Linked DNA regions of Homo sapiens: regions 2 and 3 are each linked to region 1. Evidence: promoter capture Hi-C in 16 types of primary human blood cells and fetal thymus (Javierre and others, 2016). All regions are on one chromosome and are shown on one strand. Each heading gives the region's core, a stretch centred on a gene start or on the middle of the fragment in contact. The rest is flanking DNA. Distances are from core to core; before and after follow the strand shown. Region 1 holds the start of YTHDC1 (YTH N6-methyladenosine RNA binding protein C1). Region 2 overlaps UBA6 (ubiquitin like modifier activating enzyme 6). Region 3 overlaps GNRHR (gonadotropin releasing hormone receptor).

Region 1 (5,076 bases), core at 1,683-4,182:
GAGCTGGAATTTGTACCCACGTCATTATGACTGCAAAGCTTACTCTCTTAATCACTACACAATAGCTTCAGACCAATGTTCAACATACCTAGAGTTCATCCTTTATAACCTCAACAACTTTTCCTATTTACTAACATGACTGAATTAAAAACCGCATTTTTTTACAGCTGTGCTCTTAGTTTAACATAAACTTACTTCATTTTATTTTTTGAGACAGGGTCCAGCTCTGTTGCCCAGGCTGGAGTGCAGAGGCGTAATCATGTCTCACTGCAGCCTTGACCTCGCCGGCTCAAGCAATCCTCCCACTTTGGCCCCCAGAGAAGTTGGGACTACAGGTGTGCACCACCATGACCAGCTATTTTTTATTTTATTTTCTGCAGAGATGTGGTTTCGCCAGGTTGCCCAAGCTGGTCTTAAAACTCCTGAGCCCAAGTGATCCACCTGCCTTGGCCTCCCAAAGGGCTGGAATTACAGGCATGTGCCACTGCAGCTGGCCCCATAAACTTATTTTAATAACAAAGATGCAAATATGGAATTCTATTTACATTAAAAATTACTCCTTAGTTCTAATAGGACAAATGTAGAATCAGGGAAAATGGCATTTTGATATCTTCTAAATTACTTGGCTGTTTTCTTATGCTCTTCTTTACAAAAAATTATTAAAGGAAACTCAAATATGCAAAAAAGTAGAGAAGAGAGTATAATATTAACTAATGTATGTGGAAATCAAAAGGTATCTGAGGCAGGTCTCAATCAATTTAGAAAGTTTATTTTGCCAAGGTTAAGAAAGAGCCCATGACAGCCTCAAGCTGTCCTGATGACATGTGCCCAAGGTGGTCGTGCACAGCTTCATTTTATACATTTTAGGGATACATGAGACATCAATCACCAGCTTGACTTCTTCCTTTGGCTTAGTGATGTTGGGGAGATTTTCCTTTCACATATGTATCGCCCAGCTTCAACAATTGTTAACTCATGGGTAGACTTGTTTAATCTATTCTCCTACCCATTTCGCTACACCTGCCACCAGTTTGATAAATCCCAGATACCATATAATTTCATTTGCAAATATTTATTACTATTCTTATTATTATTTTGAGACAGAGTCTAGCTCTGTTGTCCTGGTTGGGGTGAAAGTGGCACAATCTCAGCTCACTGCAACCTCCGCCTCCCGGGTTCAAGCAATTCTGCCTTAGCCTCCCGAGTAGCTGGGACTACAGGCGCATGCCATCATGCCTGGCTAATTTTTGTATTTTTAGCAGAGACGGGGTTTCACCATATTGGTCAGGCTGGTCTCAAACTCCTGACCACAGGTGATCCGCCCGCCTGGGCCTCCCGAAGTGCTGGGATTACAGGTATGAGCCACTGCATCTGGCCTGCAAATATTTTCATATGAATCATGAAATTATAAGAAATTCTTTAAAAAGCAAAACTTATTAAAACTAAAAATACAAATAGCAATTCCTCAGGATCATCAGATATTATTTAATGTGTGTGTGTGTGTGTGTTTGTGGCGTGTGCGTGTTCGTATATTCAAATTAGTGTTCAATTAAGGTCCTAGAAATGGGGCCACTCCTGGTGGCTTCACACCTGTAATCCCGCACTTTGGGAGGCCGAGGTGGGAGGATTGCTGGAGCCCAGGATTTAGACACTAGCCTGGGCAAGATGGCTAGGTGTTAGCCATCTTGCGGAGATGGTATATCTCCACAAAAAATGCAAAAAATGTGTCGGATGTGGTGGAGCATGCCTGTAGTTCCAGCTACCTGGGAGGTTAAGGTGGGAGGATCACTTGAGCCCAAGGTTGCAGTGAGCCATGATCACACCACTGCACTCCAGCCTGTGTCACAGTGAGACCACGTCTCAAAAAAAAAGAGGTACCACATTCTAGACTTCTAGACTACTTGTCTTTCCCTGAATATGCAGTTAGTTTGCCAGTTTGTCTTCATATCACGAAGTTACTTAGTTACCTTTTTCAGATTTTTCTTTCCCTTATAACTCAGTTATAGTTCAAGGAAGCAAAATTAGATTGTTTCCGTTGGACAATGAATCTTAAGCAAGTTTCTCTTGCAGATTTTACCACACTATGTAGTTATGTATCTACTGGTCATTTATTCTGTAGTTTCGATTCCTCGATGGTCTGCTTAAATCAATTTTGTGCCCCAGGGCCTTGATAACATGTTTAAATTAGTTATTAATTACAAAGACCTATTATGATACAATTCTTTCCCCAATTAAAAACAAAACTAGGCCGGGCGTGGTAGCTCACGCCTGTAATCCCAGCACTTCATCCTGGCCAACATGGTGAAATCCCGTCTCTACTAAAAATAAAAAAATTAACTGGGCGTGGTGGCGGGCGCCTGTAGTCCCAGCTACTCAGGAGGCAGAGCCAGGAGAATCGCTTGAACCTGGGAGGCGGAGGTTGCGGTGAGCCGAGATCGCGCTGCTGCACTCCAACCTAGCGACAGAGCGAGACTCCGTCTCAAAACAAACAAAAACTAGCAGGCTTTTGTGACTACAAACAAGCTGGTTGCATGCTGCACTGCCTTTGGGTAAGAGTGGAACTCCAACTAAGAAAGTACATCTGGTAAACATAAGGGATTCACCCAGACTTGTCCTAAATAAGACTCCGATTACCCGAACTGAATCAGGAGTCCTTTAGAGCGACTCTAGCTAAGAAGGCCTGTTAGGCCCTGCACTAAGAGTTTCAGGTGGGAAAATTGCGCCATCCAGTTATAGGCCGTACAGCGGGAACTCCATGAACAACCTGGGTAACCTAATCCCTGAATAAGACTCCTTCCAGGTACCAGTGGGCTGAGGGCGGCAGGGCGACGCGCTGACGTCACGTCACGTTCCTTTGCACGTCCCCGCCTCCCCGCCCCTCTCCGCACTGTGACGTTCCCAGAGAGGAACGAAGCGTAAACAGCGCAGGGCATTTCGGGAGCGGGATTGTTTCGCGCAGGAAGCAGGCTCCATTTTAGCGCCGCCCGCCGTCGCCATCTGTTTCCCTTCCCTCCCCCATACCTAGCCCGAGTCTGAGCCCTAACGAGAAGGCTGGGCCTAGGCCGCTGGATGCTGGAGTGAAAGGAAGGGAGAAAGGGAAAAAGCGGGAAGAGTCGAGAAGGCTGAGTGTTAAGAGGCCAAGTGCGACGCGCGTATCCGGGCAGACGGACTGACGGACGGGCCCGTGCTTCTGCCGCGGCTGCGGCGCCCGCGCGAGTCGCGTCTAAGCGGCGGCGGCGGTGGCAGCGGCGGAAACCGAAGGGGAGCCATGGCGGCTGACAGTCGGGAGGAGAAAGGTTAGTGCGGAGAAAGATGACGGGCCGAGGCGAGGCTGGGGCCCGGGAGTGGGGTGATGGAGCAGTGGTCGTCGTTGGGGGTGGGGGGTGGGGGTTGGGGAGGTTAGCTGGCCTCGCGAGGAGCCGGTGGCCCCCACCGAGACACTTAGACTCTGGCGGAGACCAGGCCTGCCCTTTCGTCCTCAGTCTCCATATGGCCTAGCACTTCATCTCAGTAGGGTTTTTCTTTGATGCGGATTTCACGCTTGACTTTCCGTTTAGCTGTCTTGGGCTGAGAGGGGCCCTTTCTGAGTTGCAAGCTCCTAGGTTTATTTCCTGGTAGGATCATGCGGATGTAACGCGTATTTTCAGGACAACCATTTCTGTTAGGCTAAAATTTGAAAACCCCTAATGCCGCGATCAACACTGGTGGTGTGGTAAGTGAGCAAGTTTAGGAAGTGGCACTGGCAGGTTATTAATCTTGAGAAATATCTGCAAATAACTTCTGGCTGTTCCTGTTAAATAGGCAAAGTGAATTACCCGTTTTGTTCCTCGAATACTTATTTTGGAAAAACATAGTACTTGGAAAAAGGAATACTTAGTTTGGAAAGATGACTGTGTGACTTAGGCTGGCAAAGAAATCCTGGGTGCTATTATGTTAGAAAAACCGTGTGTAGCTCCCAGAGGGTACAGTCAGAAACAAATGAATGCAAGTTACAGAGAGTTGGAGGGATAAATTTCAGTGAAATGTAGAGAGAACTGACGTTGCTGTAATGGAAAGATAGTAATACTAAGTTCCCAAGCCCTAGAGATATTAATGTAGGTCCTAGATCAGTGTCTCTCTGGAGAGTGGTCTAGATTAAATGCTGCTTTAAGATCTTTTTCAACCCTAAGATTAACATAATAGTCTTGGAAAGATTATAGTTAAAAATATGACACGGTCGCTGCTCTGTGTCTCACACATCTCTTCTGTGTGCCTAATTGATTTGGGGTTTTTTTGTCGGGGGTTGTTAAGTGGGCTCTAGAGTCAAGTTACATTAGGCGTGTAATCCTTTTTTCTTAATTTTTCTGGTTTCTGCATCAGGAGAGTCTTCATGCTTCAATGAACTGCCCTAGGTTAGGGACAAGCTGGGAAAGTGGAATGGGTGGGAATACTTTTAAGATACTGCCCTTATCCTAAAGTAGTTCTTTGATTAGGTTATAGCAGTTTAATGTTCCATCCTTAAACTAAATGCTAAAAAATCTCCCTGGGCCTTTTTTTTTTTTTTTTTTGAGAAATCCAGAAGTAATGGGAACATAGGATTGTATGGTGTTAGTGAGTAAAGGAAAATGCTTTTAATTAGTTAACTCAGTTATTAAAATACATGATCTTAATTAGTAAGTATTCAGCAAACATCTGATTGTCTTTCTAATTTATGAACTGTGGATATGGGAGTCTGTAGTGGTTGTGGTGGGCGAAATGAACCAAACACAAAAATGAGTAAAATTCAGTACTTCTCAAGAATTCGTTGTCTAAGATGAAAATATTTACAAGTCGTTAATAGAGTAGACGCAGTAATGCACATTGAAGAAGAAAAGTAGATGATTTTAAAAGTTTTGCTTTAGAAATGATTTAGTGATGATAATGCAGTCCAAATACATAAACTGTGTAGCTATTACTGGGAAGTAGTGATATCACCTGTTGTCTATACATAGGATACATTTCCCCACTTTTGAAAAGGTTCTTTGCCTCACATTTGCTTAGTTTTTTTTATTTAATTTTCATAACTTTATTTAAAAACTTGATGTAAGTGCTTTATCT
Region 2 (5,076 bases), core at 1,015-3,514, 670 kb after region 1:
TATTAGTGTAGGAAATATTTCAAGAGCCAAGTTTACAAGTGCCAACCAAGGGCCAGCCCTGTAAGCATGCCCTTCTAAAGACCAAGCCTGCACAGCCAGGTTGTGAAATTGCAGAGACTTTGATACACTGCCAAAAGAAGGGTAACTTGCTGCATCCACTTTGATTTTGGGCTGGGGGCAGGGGGTTGTTTTGTTTTGTTTGAAACAGGATTTCATTCCCGTCGCCCAAGCTGGAGTGCAGTGGCATGATCTTGGCTCACTGCAACCTCCACCTCCTGGCTCAAGCAATTCTCCTGCCTCAGCCATCCGAGTAGCTGGGACTTAACTGCAGGCACCCACCACCTCATCCTGCTAATTTTTGTAGTTTTTATAGAGATGGGGTTTTGCTGTGTTGCCCAGGCTGGTCTTGAACTCCTGAGCTCAAGTAATCCACCCATGTAGGCCTCCCAAAGTGCTGGGATTATAGGCGTGAGCCACCACAACTGTCCTGGTACGTCCATTTTGGAAAACAGTTTGGCACTGTCTAATGAAGTTGAAGTATACATATTCTTAAATCCTGCATTTCCTCTCTGGGGATATACATTAGAGCAGGGGTGTCCAATCTTTTTGCTTCCCTGGGCCACATTGGAAGAAGAATAATTGTCTTGGACCACACATAGAATCCACTAACAGTAATGATAGCTGATGAACTAAAAAAAAAAAAAAATTGCAAAAAAATCTCATAATGTTTTAAGAAAGTTTACGAATTTGTATTGGGCCGCATTCAAAGCTGTCCTGGGCCGCATGCAGCCTGTGGACCGTGGGTTGGACAAGCTTGTATCAGAGAAACAACTCTTAAGTGTGTACCAGGAGATGTTTATAAGAATGGTCAGAATACAATATAAATGAATATTAATGACCAGTTGCAGACATCAGTATAAGTCCATCTCATAAATAATTTCATTCAAAAGAAACAAGATAAAAGACACTCAAAGTGATTCCATCTATACAAAGTCTAAAATCAGGTAAAACCTAAGTATATTATTTCTGGGTACGCATAAGGGTGGTAAGACTATATAAGAACTTTCGTACATACTATAGTAGATTTTCAATAAATATTTGATGTGTAAATGGATAGTTTTTACTTTCTAAAACAAAAGTCTTGAGTACCAATTTAAAAAGAAAAGTTTAGGTTTTATTATATTTTGTATGAAACAGGGAAGGAAATAAAGATAGCTTGTGTTTATAAAGTTTTGTCTCTCTAGATAAGAAATCCCTTTTCAGGCTTTTATGTTGAATATGAAAAGCTGAAATAATGGAAATTAAATATTTATTTTTAAAACAAATGTGCATTAAACATGTATGTGTTAATTCTGAAAGTAAATACTTATAACCCAAGGGGTTCTGAAATTATTTATTTATATCGAACTAATCTTTAAAATGTTTCTCATAAGAATTCATTGGAATTTATATTATCTCCAAAGATAGCATCAAGTTTCTCATTGTTCTTTCAGATAAACACTTACAATTGACTTTATTACTATATCAGACTTTTAAATTACTAACGTATATTTTTTGAAATTCCCATCCTGTTACTACCTTGTGGCTATTAGGATGCATAACTTAACAAGGTCCTTTATATAACATCTGAACTCCAAGAAGAGAACCAAATTTTTTTTGTTGTTGTTGCCTCAGAAATCCTGTTGATAGTGAAAGTTTTAAGGTGGAAATGGCAAACTCAAATGCTTATAGTGGCCACTGAGGTAATAAATGAGAGGAACAGGAAGGAATTGATTGTGGCAAATCTGGAGCACATAATCCTCCTGCCTAAACAGGGCAACTCTTACTCACCTCCATCTGTCTATTGCCTTGAGGGAATATGGATTGTGGTGCCAAATTATCTGATTTTTCAAAATATGTCATATATTTGGCATTTAATTCAGAAATGTTTAAACACTGTGCAAATCATTCATAACAAGTCTGTGGGCCGGATTGAGTTCCTAGGCTTTTAGTTTGCAAACAACTTTAAGAGATATTATAATTTCAGTGAAATAATTTTTTGTTTTTTATTGTGTTTTCCGTGTAGTCGACAGAGGTACGTTCTTGGAGACACAGCAATGCAGAAGATGGCCAAGTCCCATGTTTTCTTAAGTGGGATGGGTGGTCTTGGTTTGGAAATTGGTAAGCAATATTTATATTCCTAATTTTTGACACTTTTGAGCAATGAAGATAGTTTAAATAACTTAACTTCATCCCCTTATATTTCCTATAAAGGAAGTTAGATCCAAAATGTTGATCAGATTGAGTTTTTAATCTTTGTCAAGACTATTTCGTGATGTTATATTCTTCCACAAAGAACCAATAATGACTCATTGCTTCTTTTTGTGATGTTAATAGCCATTAATTATCATTCTCTATATCCATTAATTCATTATAAGCACACATACATATACTGTATTCATAAAAACATATCTGGAAGAATACGTTGAAATTTTAGGAGTGATTATCTCTGGGTGTTGTGATTATGCACATTTTAATTTTTTCACTTTTAACCTGTATTTTGTAACTTTTTTAAGACAAGGAACTTGTATTAAGTAGTAAAAAAAGAAGTTAAAAGTATGCAGTCAGATATGTGACTAAGCTCTGTGAAGACATATCTAGTGTGTATTCCCAATATTGAGCTATTCCTTTTTCTTTTGCCTTTCTAGCAAAGAATCTTGTTCTTGCAGGGATTAAGGTAAGTAAATGTCCTCTGTAAGAAAAATTGTTATGAGCCTTTTTTTTTGGCTCATTTGTTATGGTAATATTGTTTATACTTTGTTTTAATTATTGTCTTTAATGCTCTACTTTTTAAAAAAAATCATGGAAATTTAAAAAATATACAAAGAAAGAATTGTGTAACAAAACCCCACATACCCATCAGAAAGCATCAGTTACCAACTCTTGGGGACATTTGTTTCATATATCTTCTTCCCATTCCTTATTGCCCCCAACTGCCAAATTATTTTGATGTAAATTTCAGACATTGTATTATATCATCCTTAAATATTTTAGTAGTATCTTTAAAAGATAAGAATATCTTTTGAAGCAGCAATATAATTTTCACACCTAAAATGTAACAAGCTCTTAATACCATTGTATTAGTTTACATGTTGCTATAAAACAGTTTACCCCAAAATTTGTAGCTTAAGCAACATTTGTTGTCTCATAGTTTCTGTGAGTCAGGATTCGGGCATGACTCTGGTTGGGGTTTCTCTGGGAGTCTCTTACAAGGCTGCAGTCAAGGTATTAGCAGGGCCTGCAGTCATCTTGAGGCTAGACTGGGGAAGGATCTGCTTCCCAAGCTGGCTCATGTGGTTCTTGGTAGGATTTAGTTCTTCATGTATTGTTAAACTGAGGACCTCAGTTCCTGCTGGCTCTTGACCAAAGGTCACCCTCAATTCCTTGCTTGTATGGCTTTCTCCATAGGGCAGTTCACAGTGTGGCAGTTTGCTTCATCAGAGTAAACAAGTAAGACAGGAGAAGAGAGTGTGTTAACAAGACAAGTCAGTCTTTTGTAACCTAATCTCAGAAGTGGGTCCAGGCCACACTCAAGGTGGGAGATCACACGAAAGCCTAAATACTATGAAGCAGGAAACATTGTGGCCATCTTAAAAGCCTGTCTACCACAGTCATCAAATGTCTAGTTAGAGTTCAAATTTTCCCAAATGTCTTAAGACATTTTATTGAAAGCTTGTATCATTCTAATCAGGATCCAAGTAAAATTCGTATACTGAACTTGGTTTATTTTAATCTATAGATTTCCCTTCCTTGCCTAGGTTTTTTCTTGCAATTTATTTGTTGAAGAAACTAGTCATTTGTCACAGGTATTTCTACATGTGTATTTCCTGTAAACTGGTAGTTATAGCCAGAGAATCCAGTTCAGATTTGATTCTTTTTGGCAAGACTGTTTCATAGCTGTTCTCCCATCAGGAGACAGTAATATTCTGTTGTCTCTCTTTTTGTGATTATTATTAGCTGTTAATTATTATTGCCTAGATTCATTATTTCATTAGGGGCAGTGATGATGTTTTATCATTCTTTTCTCATTTATTAGCTGGAATTATATTTTAGAAAAAAATTCCAGTCATGACTTTCTTGGTTTCACGAAAGTATGGATTGTACATTTACAAAATGCAGGATAAATACTACATTTTTCCCCATTAACTTACCAGTTTTCAAAATCAGTGGTTTCCTGTCATCATTTCGTAGTATTGACCAGTGAATTTATATGTATGTGTACATTATGATAAACTCATGGATTTAAACATAATTTGATGTGTTTTGATCTATTATAGTTATTTTCATTGATGCTCAGATTGTTCCATCTTTGGTTATTGTGGTTCTCTTCCTGTTTTTTGAGGCTTTGAGACACAGCCCCCAGTAGTCTTTGTCGCTGTTTACAAAGTCTTTTCAGTGGGCAGAGCTAGAACGTTCGTAATGAGTAAATACTGAAATTTCTGATTTTCAGGTTTAGGCTTATAAAGTATTACTAAAATTTCTAATTTTTACTTTGGATTATAGGATATTTATTTCTGTGATTTTATATTTGTATCTTATTAGGATTTTGGTTTCTAATGATCCATTACGTGCTTTATCCTATATATGCTATATATTCTTTATCCTATTATATTTTACTTGTATGGCATAGTTTCAGAATACCAATTCCAATATTGTTAATAATAATGTATTATTGAAAAAAATTTAGAGTTTTTTGATCCTACCTGGATTTGGCAGGCAAATTAACTGCTTTTAAAAGTCACTTTAAATAAATCTCTGTGTGTAGCAGACTCCATAAACAGTTTAGTCCATGTATTTGTTTTGCTTTGGATTTTTAGAGATTGCTTTTTAAAAAATTTAGTTTTACTATTATGTGAGATTTATGATTCAAAGTCAGATTTTTTAAACAAAGTATTTTCAGGTAAGTCTAGCTTCTTGTTACCTTGTTTCCTCCTTCACTTATTAGGTTACTGTCTTTTTATATTTGGTTTATTCTTCATTTGTTTTTGTAGATAGGTAAATGCATACACACATACATGTGTATCTGTTTATGTGTGG
Region 3 (5,076 bases), core at 2,162-4,661, 600 kb after region 1:
CAATACATAAGAATAAGTTTAGCAAATATATCACCTGAAATGAGGTGATTTAGCTAAGGCTTATGCTCTTAAAATTTTCCACATTCTTTCTTTCCACTTTTGCACCTATGGTCCAAGTTACCTGGGAGGTTGGGAGGGAGGTTGTGGTGGGAGGATCACTTGAGCCCAGGAGTTCGAGACCAGACTGGGCAATATAGGGAGGCCCCATATCAACAAATTATTAAAAAAAAAATTGCTTAAATGCTGGTCATGATGACCCGCACCTGTGGTCCCAGCTACTTGGGAGGCTGAGGTGGGAGAATCGCTTGAGCCTGGGAGGCAGAGGTTGCAGAGAGCCATGATGCATCACTGCAACTGCACTGCAATCTCGGTGACAGAATGAGAACCTGTCTCAAAAAAGAAAAAAAAAAGGCTTTGGGAAAATTTATGTAGGCCCAAATGGCCCAAATGGAGTGGAATAAAACAAAGACTTTTTTAAAAATCATCTGGCAATGAGGTGATCAGGGGGCTAGGGTGGTATCAAAGAGAATAGATAGTAAAAGAGACATTTCAAATAAAATACAAAACCTGACAACAAATTGGATTGAGAGAGTTAATAATAGAGCAGGGGGAAATAAAGTTCCAATTTTTTTAGCCTAGGAATTAAAATAGTAAAACCATTGAAATGATCCGGTGGGAAGGGGAGTGTTTGTTTGTCTGCCTGTTTGTTTGTAGAAGGGAGAGGGAAGGCAGGCTATGAGAAGTAAAATCATTTGCTTTAGGACATGACTGTTGGCAATATAAGATCTGTGTAATTACAACTATGTGTAAAGTAGTTGGTAATTTGAGGTGCTGATGTAGATTAAAATCCAAACCAAAGTAGAAATAATCCTATCTGCAATAATAACTGAAGGGCAAACTCACGATTTGATTCTTCTTAGAAGAAGTCTCCTAGAAGCTATAAATAAAATATTGCTTTATCAATCCAATTATTTTCATCTAAGTATTAACAGCAATAATAGAAAGATAATGCCAAATATTTATCTAACTTGATGTAGCAAAAAGAAAATAGGAACTTAACTTTGAATTGTTTAGGAATTTCATGTAATAGTCTGACCTCAAATACATTACTAGAGAGATTTATGTGAATGTGAGCCACAGAAAATGGTGTTATTTTATTTTGTAAAACACATGACTCATCCTTACTTTCAACAACACTTTAAAGCACTTTGCTGAAGTTTCCTGAATAACCTCACATAAGTAATGCTGATATTTACGTTAACTCTATAAGGTAAATAGGAGCTGTGTTATTATCCCTATTTCATATATAAGAGAGCTAAGGTCTAAACCTATGAAGACAATGGCATTCAAATCCTTTTGCAATAATCCAAAGTAAGAAATACACACTACACTGAAACCTTGTTTGTGTCTCTGTCTCTTTCTCTCACACATATAACTGAGAAAAAATTTTGATGAAATAAATATTCTATTCTGTTACATTTTATTTTTTACTGTTGATTACAACTCATTGCTGAGCATATCCTGCAGTTCAAAAAGCACTGATTTAAAAGGATTCATTAGCATTCCCAGTGTCACGTGCTCTGTTGGACTCGTGTTGTCTTATTCTTTCCTTTTATTATGGCTCTCTTCAATTTCTCTGAATAAAAGAAATTTCAATCCCATAACTAATGTTACATATATTTGATGAGGAACATGAGAGAGAAAGAGGGCTTTTTATTTCTAGACTGTGATGCATGATGAGTGTGTCTCATGCTTCACCATGCTCTGTGGTCAATTATAAAAAATGTAATTGACAAAGGCACGTCCTATTGTGCCTAATTTACATTAAAAGGGTAACTTTAATTTTCATCCTTTGGTGCACATACCGATTTTCTATTATTTGAGTAATTCATACCTCAGTTGAAAAAAAAACACTTAACAAACATGTTTTCACCACTCAGGGCTGGGGATCTGGGAATTTATGACATTTTGCCTCAGCTCAGAATGACCAAATTTCAAATTGGCCTCCTAGATTTTCCACTTTCCTCATTATTAACCTCAGAAGCTATGTTCTGTGATAATTCGGCAGTGCATTCTCAGAAGTTTTAGCATAGTGTGGCATAGAAACTTTCAAACTTTATGCTAGTAATAGAATTCTTTTTAAAAAATTCTATATCACAATGTACCCCATAAATATGTACAATTATTATGTGTCTGTTAAAAATTTTTAAATAAAATACAGTACAAAAAATCCTGTACAAAAAGCCATAATGAATGAAACAGATATAAGTGGAGCTGCTCTGGTTAAAATAGAGGGAAAGGAGGACCAGTCCTCCACTTGGTTATTCACTAGCTCTCAGTCACAGTTACTAAAGACTTCCTATCTCCTTGCAGCAAAGTTCAAAAGCCAATGGGATAGTAAAAGTGGCATGAGTGTGAGATTCAAATGGAGTTGGGCTCAAATCTCAGTAATACTGCCTACCAGCTATGTGACTCTGAGCAAATTACTTACATTTAAAAGAGTAATTGTAAAGAATAAGTCATACAATTTATAAAATCATCTAAGACTTTACACCTTAATTTTAAATACTAATTTAATATTTATTTTTCTTCTTTTCCTTTCTTCCTAAGACCATCCTTTCTTCTTACCTTCATAAAAGAGGTTTTGAAGTCAGGAAAGAAAAAGTACAGAAATATGAGTATGGAATTGTTGGTTCTTTAAGAAACAGCAAAAAGAAATGCTTATATAAAAGTGGATTATTTCAAATTTTTCAAAATTATAGCATGCATTCTGACTGATTAGTAAACTACTCCCTGGTCACAAAGCTATCATACTCACTCTGCTAATTATACATGTCAGAGCACAGTAATTCAAGTCTTGGAGGTATCGTATATAAAAGTGGGGAAAGACGGAAGGAAGGAAGGAAGGAAAGAAGGAAGGAACGAAGGAAAGGAGGCAGGGAGGGAGGGAAAGGAGGGAAGGGGAGGAAAAAGGAGGAAAGGTAGAAAAGAAAAACGAAGGAGGGAAGGAGGAAAAGAAAAAGCAGCAAACACCCTGGGATAGCTTTGGTTTAAGACCATCTGTGGTTAGGGTGGTAAATATAAATTGAAGAGAAGACATTTCCTAAATTAGATGTGCCCGTATCTAATTTAAAATCACATGGTTTCTAATAAGAGTCATTTAATACCACAAGAATTCCAGAGTAGCAGGTTATTTGCAGAAAGAGTTCATAGCTTATCTGTGTTAAGCTTATCACTAGTTTATCTGTACTAATACAGAGTATTACATATTGACAGCTTTTAAATTCTATGGTTAACCCAGGCCTGCCGGCAAGAAATGTGGGCCACTCCTTAGTCCTTAGTGTAAAGATATGTTGTCTGAAGATGTGTGGAGGCTTGCCTTAACACACAGAGAATTTACTGGTGTAGAATGCACTACTGACATTGGCCAACGGTTTAAATTCAATAAATATTATCACACAGGTACAATATGCCTAACATTGTGCTACAACATAGTACTGTGCTACTAGCAGAAATAACAATAGCAATAATGTTGATGATGATAAATAATGCTTGAAGACATAAATATGTGCCAGGAATTTGGCTAAAAGCTTTTACATGCTAGGTTCACAGAACAGGCAGTGAATAAATATTAAATAAATAAGCTTTTACATGCAATATTTCATATAATGCTTCCAACAATCACATAAATTATGCACAATCATTATCTTTATTTTACACATGAAGAAACTAAACCTCCAATATTATATAACATGCCCAAAATTACTGTTTACTAAGTGGAAATCTCAGTATATCAGTATATTTAGTTATCTATATATGGCCATATCCATAGCCAGCTCTTTTTTTTTTAACAGTCAGAGGCTTCCCATTTATTTATTTATTTATTTATTTTATTATTATTATTATACTTTAAGTTTTAGGGTACACGTGCACAACGTGCAGGTTTGTTACATATGTATACATGTGCCATGCGAGTTAATGGGTGCAGCCAGCTCTTTTAACTACTACACTCTACCCAACTCTGCCCAGTGAACACTGCAATATTGTCTATTTCCTTTTTACCTGTAGGAGGCTGGGGAAGAAAAAGGCAGAAAAAGCTTGAAGTGAAAACTGATGCTTAAAACACATCAAGAAAAAAATATATATGATACACATTTATAAACATATAAACGCATATGGATACATATAAAAATTGTGTGCCTCAAGTTTTAATTATAATAATGGTAAAGATTTATAAAGTGCTGTGTTCCAGGCACTATTCCAGGTGCTTTGCATGTATTAACTCATTTATTGTCATGATAGGCCTTAGAGGTAGATATTACTATTTTCTCCATGTATGTAGATGAGGAAACTGAAGCACACATCTGAAGATAATTACCTGTGGACAACACTAGGTAAGGGTGTAATTAGTGTGGGTAAGGTGAGTGTTAAAGATAATATTCTAAGAAGAAATGAACAACTGCAATTGACTGTGAAAAACAAAAACAGAATGTTCTTGTTTATGGCAAAATAAAGCAAACACTGATAAGAACCAGGGCCAGGGGCAAGAGAGGAGAAATATACCAAAATTAAAGAAATATAATCCAAGGACAAATGAACAACTAAAAGCAAAGTGGATCTCTACATAAATCATTCAAATGAACATGGCCTTGGAGCACAAAATAAACGGAACTAAGACAATAGCAAGTTAATTTATGGGCAAGTAAGATTCTGAATTTGTGTACACTTTATTATACCTTTCTTAAAATTTATTGGTCTATCTTGTATTACCTGGGTCACATACATTTTAAATCTGCACTACCAAATATTAAATTCCCTGATTGAAGGATATAACTGCTTTATCTTTTATGACAGAGAATGCCAGCTATAGTTTATTTTACCAAAGAGTTGCTTAAAAAATAAGCATGTGTTAAATAAGATAGCCATTAACTCAATCATAGTACTATGTTTCAAAGTCATTGCTAATTGAAAGTTTCATCATTATGGCTTTTTTAAACATATTTTATTTTTTTAATTATAAATTTTTTCCAGTTACAAATGAACCAATTTGAACCACGCACTACCCATCTTTTTAGA

Evidence for each region. Contacts are between HindIII fragments. The CHiCAGO score rates a contact against its expected background, and 5 or more counts as called.
Region 2: a contact is called between a fragment that was not itself captured here and the fragment with the promoter of YTHDC1 in region 1, in 1 of 17 cell types (activated CD4 T cells). The highest score is 5.2, in activated CD4 T cells.
Region 3: a fragment that was not itself captured here is called in contact with the fragment with the promoter of YTHDC1 in region 1 in 1 of 17 cell types (fetal thymus); the score reaches 5.3 in fetal thymus.

What each region holds. Positions count from the first base shown.
Region 1 is chr4:68,347,946-68,353,021 of GRCh38, reverse strand. It overlaps YTHDC1 (YTH N6-methyladenosine RNA binding protein C1), which reads left to right and starts at 2,932. Exons shown (of 17, transcript NM_001031732.4): 1 at 2,932-3,296. The coding sequence starts at 3,269. RefSeq lists an enhancer at 2,984-3,563. The HindIII fragment of the contact is 7,711 bases long and covers 41-5,076 here.
Region 2 is chr4:67,679,203-67,684,278 of GRCh38, reverse strand. UBA6 (ubiquitin like modifier activating enzyme 6) reads left to right here. Exons shown (of 33, transcript NM_018227.6): 3 at 2,066-2,160; 4 at 2,688-2,716. Among named protein-coding and RNA genes, the nearest start is that of UBA6, 19 kb to the left of the region's middle. The HindIII fragment of the contact is 2,898 bases long and covers 816-3,713 here.
Region 3 is chr4:67,747,542-67,752,617 of GRCh38, reverse strand. The region is part of intron 1 of GNRHR (gonadotropin releasing hormone receptor); the gene reads left to right. Among named protein-coding and RNA genes, the nearest start is that of GNRHR, 4.3 kb to the left of the region's middle. The HindIII fragment of the contact is 362 bases long and covers 3,231-3,592 here.